Regions from separate parts of the Homo sapiens genome. Here region 1 is linked to region 2. Evidence: promoter capture Hi-C in 16 types of primary human blood cells and fetal thymus (Javierre and others, 2016). All regions are on one chromosome and are shown on one strand. The core of a region is centred on a gene start or on the middle of the fragment in contact, and the rest is flanking DNA. Distances in the headings are between cores, read along the strand shown. Region 1 overlaps NIPAL2-AS1 (NIPAL2 antisense RNA 1). Region 2 holds the start of KCNS2 (potassium voltage-gated channel modifier subfamily S member 2).

Region 1 (3,745 bases), core at 664-3,163, 240 kb after region 2:
AACACTCTTCCAGACTGCTTTACTTAAACTCTGTGGCTGGTTATAGAGGCAGTCTTTGCACTGGGCGGCTGCAAGGCTAATGCACATGTTTGGCACCAGTGAATGTGAGTCCTTTAGTGAGGTTGCTAGATAAACACCACACATTTTGAACTATTAGAATAAAATCTCAAAATTGAACCCAACGTGATTGTATGGGGAATTTAGAGGCTGCTTCTAATCGTTAGACTCATCAACAGTCTGGCTCTTATTATGACCATCTTGAAGTAAAACAATAAAATAAAATTCCACACATACACAGTTTCCATGCAAATATAGACCAGCCTTGAGCTATTAAACCTAGCATTTTAGCAATTGTGGTAAATGCAGGGAAGAGCCTTTCCACCCAGGAATTTTTGAGTCTGTTCCCTTTCTCACCAGCCTCAGGGTACCACACAACATGATGTCCTGTGCCAGAAGAGCAAATCAGTTACAGGAGCTGTGGCCCATCCAAGGAAGCTTTTTTTTTTTTTTCCTGAGAGGGAGGAAACTCCTCCTTTAATGTTGGTCCTTATTGAGAGTTAATGAGTCCCAACCACAATGTAAAAGAGAAATATCAATCCCAATATCAAATAAATGTGGTGTTTTGGGGTGCACCCTGCTGGGCCAGGTGCTGCCAAGAGTTTCATGGAGTTCCAGACAAGATGTCAGATAGTCTCCATGTTCCAGGAAAGAATCTCCTTCCCAGGGAGCTGACAAGTGCATAGCCAAGAAAGAGCCCTCCATTCCTGGTGGGACCAGCAAGCATGGACCGAAGCCACTTTGCACATTTGAGCTGCTGCTATCCAAACATGAACAAATCCATCCAGTGTGCACGCATCCCACTTTCAAGCCTTTCCCTCATGGTTCTAATTTGAAAACCAACCTCAGAAATGTTCTGAGGCTTGGGCTCTACTCCCTCTATCCAAAGCACCTCACCTAAACCTTCTAAACACTGTGCATGAACAAGGAGATGAATCAACTCAAGAACTCTTGACCCCAGGGACTCAAAGCCTGGGTTATTTGCCTGATTATAGACTACTAGCTCAATTACCACATGACTCAATCTTAGCAAATGTTCATTAATTCACTCAAATATAATCAATCACCTACAATTTTCAATGTAACATGCATTTTTTAAATAGACTTTATTTTGTAGAGTAGCTTTAGGTCACAGCAAAATTGAGCAGAAGGTACAGAGAATTGCCATCTGCTTCCTGCCCCTTCACAGGCACAGCCTCTCCTATTAGCAACATCCCCCACCAGAGTGGTACATTTGTTACAATCAATGAGCCTACATTGGCACATCATTATCACCCAAACTCCCTGGTTTACGTTAGGGTTCGCTCTTGCTGTTATACATTCTACGGGTTTGGACAAGTGTATGGTGACATGTGCCCATCATGATAGTATCATACAGATCAGTTTCCAAAACCCTCTGTGCTCTGCCTAGTCGTCCCTCCATCCCTGCACGCCCTGGCAACCACTGATCTTTTTACTGTCTCCAAAGTTTTGCCTTTTCAGGAATGTCATATGTTGAAATCATATAGTATGTAGCTTTTTCAAATTGGCTTCTTTCACTTAGTAACATGGATTTAAGGTTCCTCCATGGCTATTTACACTTAGTTGCCCATTTCTTTTGAGTGCTGAATAGTATTCCATTGCCTGGACGTACCACAGTTTATTCGCCTATTCGTCTACTTGGTTGGACAAGTAGATAAATAGATATCATCTTGGAAGGACATCTTGCAATTGCAAAAAGCTTCCAAGTTTTTGCAATTTAAAGTTATTGGGAATATGATGATGAATTAGACCAGCTCTTTGTGAGTTGCCTGTCTAGTTAGAGAAACCATAGCTATCATTTATTGAGCCCTTACTGCTAATCTTTTACTTGTGTTATTCATTTCATCCTTAAAATTCTCTATTAGAGAGGTCCTGATCCCCACTTTACAGATTAGAAAACCATGATAAGAGGCAGGGCAGGGATTAGGGTAAGTCAAGAGAGGCCCAAGGCACACAATTTAATGAAGCTTATGAAAATCTGACTTGTGGGGTGGTGAGAGGACCCTGAGAGTGAGTGCCTCTTTAAATGTTGTGCCCTAGGTGCCTCACTGTGTCCCAGTCCTGGGAAAAGGAGTTAAGTGACTTGACCAGTATCATTCAGCTGGCAAGTGGCGGAGCTGGGATTTGAACCCAGGACATCTAGCTCTGTAACCCACACTCTTAGCACAAGTGGCCAAAGTACCTACACTGTGCAACTGAATGTTGAAAATGCCTTAAGAGACTTAAAGGGCATGGGAGCTTGGAGGAGAGAAAGGTCTAGGGCACAGTCTTCAAAGGGATTCAGGATTGTAGTGGGTTAAATGGTGGCCCCTGAAACAATATGTCCATGTCCTAAACCCTGCAACCTGTGAATGTGACCATATTTGGAAATAAGTTCTTTGCAAAAGAAATTCAGGATCTTGAGATGAAAGCAACCGGGATTACCTGGGTGGCACCTAAATCCATTGACAAGTGTCCTTAGACAGAAAAGGCAAGACACAGAGAGGGCCCTGTGAAGATAGAAGCAGAGACTGGAGTCCTGAAATCACAAGCCAAGGCAGACCTAGAGCCATCAGAAACTAGAGGAGACAGGGCAGGACTCTCCCCTAGCGCCTTCCGAGGGAGCACAGCCCTGACTACTCCTTGATTTCAGACTTCTGACCTCCTTAGTGGTGATTTATTGTGGAAACTCTAGGAAACTAAAACAGGGATTGACCTGGTCTTTGAAGTGCATGTAGAATTTGGACATAAGGGGAAGCCCCATGAGCAAAGAAGAAACTGAATAGTTCAAGCCTGGTAAACATCTATAACATGGGGTCACACGAAGAGGAAGGCAACTCGGTAAGGCTAGAAAAGCAAGTAAGAAGGCCCTGAGTGGCCAGCTATAACACAGATTTAAGAGTTCAGGCTTGATTTGAGAGGTAAACGATTGTATTAACTTCATTTCCAGGGATGCAGACTGAACTTAACGAACATAATCAGTATCTTTCCAAAAACTCACCTATCCATGCACACTGGCAAATAACACTCAAAAACAACAACAATAAAACTCACCTATCAGAATTTAAGGGCTGGGCGCGGTGGCTCACGCCTGTAATCCCAGCATTTTGGGAGGCCGAGGCGTGTGCATCACGAGGTCAGGAGATCGAGACCATCCTGGCTAACACAGTGAAACCCCGTCTCTACTAAAAATACAAGACATAAGCCGGGCGTGGTGGTGGGCGCCTGTAGTTCCAGCTACTCGGGAGGCTGAGGCAGGAGAGTGGCGTGAACTTGGGAAGCAGAGCTTGCAGTGAGCTGAGCTGGTACCACTGCACTCCAGCCTGGGTGACAGAGTGAGACTCCGTCTGAAAAAAAAAATTTAAGGACGTTACTCCACATCTTCCTTAGGCAGTCACTCTCAGTATAAGATGGCATAAAAGATATTCAGGAAATAATGACTGAACTCTACTTTTGCATTTGTGGCTCATCACATCCTACCAGAAATGATCAAGCATAACGAGGCTATGAGCTGAACAGTGACCTCTGAGATGGCCTCGAGCAAAACAGCTGTCTCCAGAGAAGAATGGGCTGGGCCATCCAAAATCTCACTCTCCAGAACTTGGGGTGAGAGGCATGGAGACAGTCAAGGAGGTAGGAGTGGGAGCCGATACTGGAAGGCTTCCCAGAGAGATATAAAGGTACAAGG
Region 2 (3,340 bases), core at 583-3,082:
GGGGACGATGGACATGAGGTCAATAAGGTTTAGGGCATTCTTGAAGAACTTGAGGAAGTCAGGGGCCACAGCAAACCTGGCCACCAGCTCAAATGTGAACCAGGCAATGCCAAAGTGCTCCACGATTTCGAACCTAGGGTCCTCGCCAGGGTTGCCCTGGCTGTCAGGGATTTGGAAATCGGGCAGGCTATTGAGGCACATGGTGATGATGGACCCCATCACCACCAGGATGGACAGGATGCTGAAGACCCTGCTCAGCACTGAGTAGCCGGGGTTGTCCAGCGCCAGCCACAGCTGCCTGCGGAAGTTGCCGAGGGGCTGCCCATCGAACTTGGAGGCGTCGTTGTAGAAGGCAAGGATCTCATCGAAGGAAGACGTGGTGCTCTCCTGGTCACTCTGCTCGTCCCACTTCTCCTGCTCGGGCTCTACTTTGCGGCCATGGTAGCTGTAGCTGCAGCAGGAGTCAATGAAGAACTCGTTGATGCCCCAGTACTCGATCTCCTGGCTGAAGGAGAAGACACATAGCTCAGCCATGACGTGAAGCTTGCCGGTGTGATAGAAATGCAGCACGTAGGGGAAGAGCTCAGGGTTGCGGTCGAAGTAGAACTCCCGCTGGACGTCGTCGTAGTCATCGCAGAGCTCCAGAATGGCCTCGCGCGAGTGGCAGAGCAGCAAGCGGCCCAGGCGCGTCTCGGGGAAGCGCAGCAGCGTGTGCGAGCGCAGCCTCCTCTTGAAGCCGCCCACATTGATGCGGATCTCCCCGTCCTCGACGTTAGCCTCCGACACGTCCCACAGGCTCTGGCCGGTCATGCTGGAGGCGCCGGCCGCCCGCGCCGCGCGGGGGCGCTACACCTGGAAGCGGAGGGAACAGCGTCGGCGAGAGCGCCGTGCGCCCTGGCGGGGCCCCCTCTCCCTACCCATTACTGGCGGGCCCAGGCCTCCTGGTGGGTCTTGGGTGCTGAAGGGCTGGGCTGGGGCAAGAGTTTGAGGGGTCTGATCCCCTCCCAGGAAAGGCTGGGGGTGGGTATGTTTCTATTAGCACAGCTCCACCCCAGGGGTCTCGGTGGGCGCTTTGCGCGTGCGGGGTCGCGTCCCCGCGGCTCTGAGCGCCCAGGGGGCTGCATGCTGACCTTGTCCATGGGCAGGCCCGGGAGACGCCCCCGCCCGCTCGCCGCAGACAGGCGGGACCGGAGCTGAGATACGCACGGGCAGGGCCGGGCCGACACGGGGGGCGCGTAGCTTTGGTGGGGTGGGGGGGATGCGCTGGAGTCTGGAAACCCGGGCCGCGGGAATGAGGGGGGCGGCCCGGCCTCCCCTGGGTCCAGATCCCACGCCTGCAGCCCCCGCGTCCCCGGCCCAGGTCTCCCTGCCGGCCTGGCGCTATGCCCCGGGGCCGCGTGCGCTGCGCCTCACCCAGCGGGGCTGCCCGGGCTCGCCCTGCGCGTTCTGGAAGCGCTTACCTGGGAGCACGGGTGCCCGCGGCCGAGGCCGGCGGGAAACTTCCCCAACCCGCGGGCGAGCATCGCGGCGGTGGCCGCTGCCTGCTGGCGGTGCGTGCGCGGGTGCGAGTGTGTGCGCCCGGCGGGCCGGCGGGCGGGGGCCGCCGAGCGTCTCCTCCCGTCTCGGGCCGGGTACGCCGCCGCCGCCCGCAGCTGCCGAAGGCTCACAGGTGGCTGCGTGGTCCCGCCGCTCCCGGAGCCCCCTCTCCGGATCCGCGCGCCCCTCACCCACCCAGAGAGGCAGGAACCCGCGCCGCATTCGCCCCGTGAGCCGGGGCGGGAGCAGAGCGGGTGTGACGGGGCGCCCGCCCTGCGCGGGGCGCGGCGCGGTGGTGCTGAACGGACAGCTCCGCGTGCCTCGGCCGCCGCCCGGGCTCGGAAGGCGCAGCCGCCGCCGCCGCTGCTTCTCTGCGCTTCCCCGGCGCGTCACCGCGACCACCTTGCGCCCCCGGCTCGGCGCGGGGCCGACACCTCTCCCTTCCCCCCGACCATCCCCCGGTGACAGCTGTTATTATCACCACCCCCAGGGCGCAGGCAGGGGGCTGCCTACGGTGACCTTTCCCCGCTGGGTCTGGCGGGAGCTGGGCTGGGAAATAAAGGGCGGCTTGCGCGTGTCCGGGGACAGGGCGGGACCGGAGGAACTCCAGGTGTCCCCTTTTAGGGACCTGAAGAAAAGTTTCCCGAAGCCCGGGGGTGGGGTTGTTGGGGAACAGGAGCTGGAGGGGAAAAGAGGGGGCCGGGAAGTCCAAGGTGGAGATCGGCTTAGTACGCGGGGGGCGGGAGCGCAGGCCGCACGGCGGGGGCGGGAGTCGCTGAGTTCTGGTCGGGAGCTCTGTGTGGGCACAGTTTGTGTCCAGGCCGGTGTGGTGTGCTGGCTGTGCGGGACTGCAGGGCGCTGTGTGTGTATGTAGGCTGAGGACAGCAGGACTTTTCAGTGTCTGTGTGTACCGCGTTCATTAAAATGGGTCCTCTGTCGGATGGGAAGATGCGTCGGCACAGGGGGGACCTGGGACGTGTGTCAGCGCAGTGTGTGGCATGGGGAACCGTGTGCTGTGTGTACATGTGCTGTGTACAGTGTAGTACTCTTGGGACTGTGACGGGCTCATGTGTGTGGAATATGTTGAGAGCGGTGTGCTTGCCGACAGTGGGGACTGGGGGGTTCAAGCTGGAGTGGGGACTGGTAGATGTGCTCAGGATCTGTGTCCCTATTCCTAAGAAGACTCGTGGCCCAGATCTGAGCTCTTGGTCTGCTGGGATTGTCCTTAAGGCCCTGCCTACTGGGCTGAGCTGAGAAATGGACCCAGTCCCTGGGGAGCCCCCTCCCTTTGGTGTTTCTCTGTGGTGTCCACTTGCAAAGACTGGAGCACCGTGGTTGTGTGAGCTTAGCAGGGAGCTAGCGTCTACATGTCTCGGTCAGAAGTCCTGGGAATGCCCTTGCAGGGTGGCTCTGGATTCATGGTGCAACCACCACTGCCACAGTGGGAAGTACATTCTTTCTTTACGCAATCCTGGCAATGCCGTCCCAGCTGAAAAGGTGCTCTGTGTAGCTCTGGAGGGCTTGGGGCCTCCTTGGAGGACCTGTAGAGGACCGTTAATCTGGCTTCGAATGGGGGCTCCTGCATCCAAGTCTGACCCATCCCTGTGACCCACTGGCTTCTGGACATGTGTGTGGGTGTGAATGCAGGTGTGTTTCCTGCTGAGAGGGCTTCACACCCATGCCCCTGCAGGCCTCTGCAAATGTGGTGGATTCCACAGAGGCAGCCACATGGGAGAGGGATAGTAGGGTAGTGAGGGCCACACACACTTCCTCTTTCTTGTGTATGACCTTTCCCCAGGCTTTG

Evidence for each region. Contacts are between HindIII fragments. The CHiCAGO score rates a contact against its expected background, and 5 or more counts as called.
Region 1: a fragment that was not itself captured here is called in contact with the fragment with the promoter of KCNS2 in region 2 in 1 of 17 cell types (M1 macrophages); the score reaches 5.3 in M1 macrophages.

What each region holds. Positions count from the first base shown.
Region 1 is chr8:98,185,707-98,189,451 of GRCh38, reverse strand. The region is part of intron 2 of NIPAL2-AS1 (NIPAL2 antisense RNA 1); the gene reads right to left. Among named protein-coding and RNA genes, the nearest start is that of NIPAL2-AS1, 11 kb to the right of the region's middle. The HindIII fragment of the contact is 268 bases long and covers 1,780-2,047 here.
Region 2 is chr8:98,425,450-98,428,789 of GRCh38, reverse strand. It overlaps KCNS2 (potassium voltage-gated channel modifier subfamily S member 2), which reads right to left and starts at 1,832. Exons shown (of 2, transcript NM_020697.4): 1 at 1,461-1,832; 2 at 1-852. The coding sequence starts at 810. It also overlaps a transcript of STK3 not described here. RefSeq lists a silencer at 1,733-1,932. The HindIII fragment of the contact is 15,366 bases long and covers 546-3,340 here.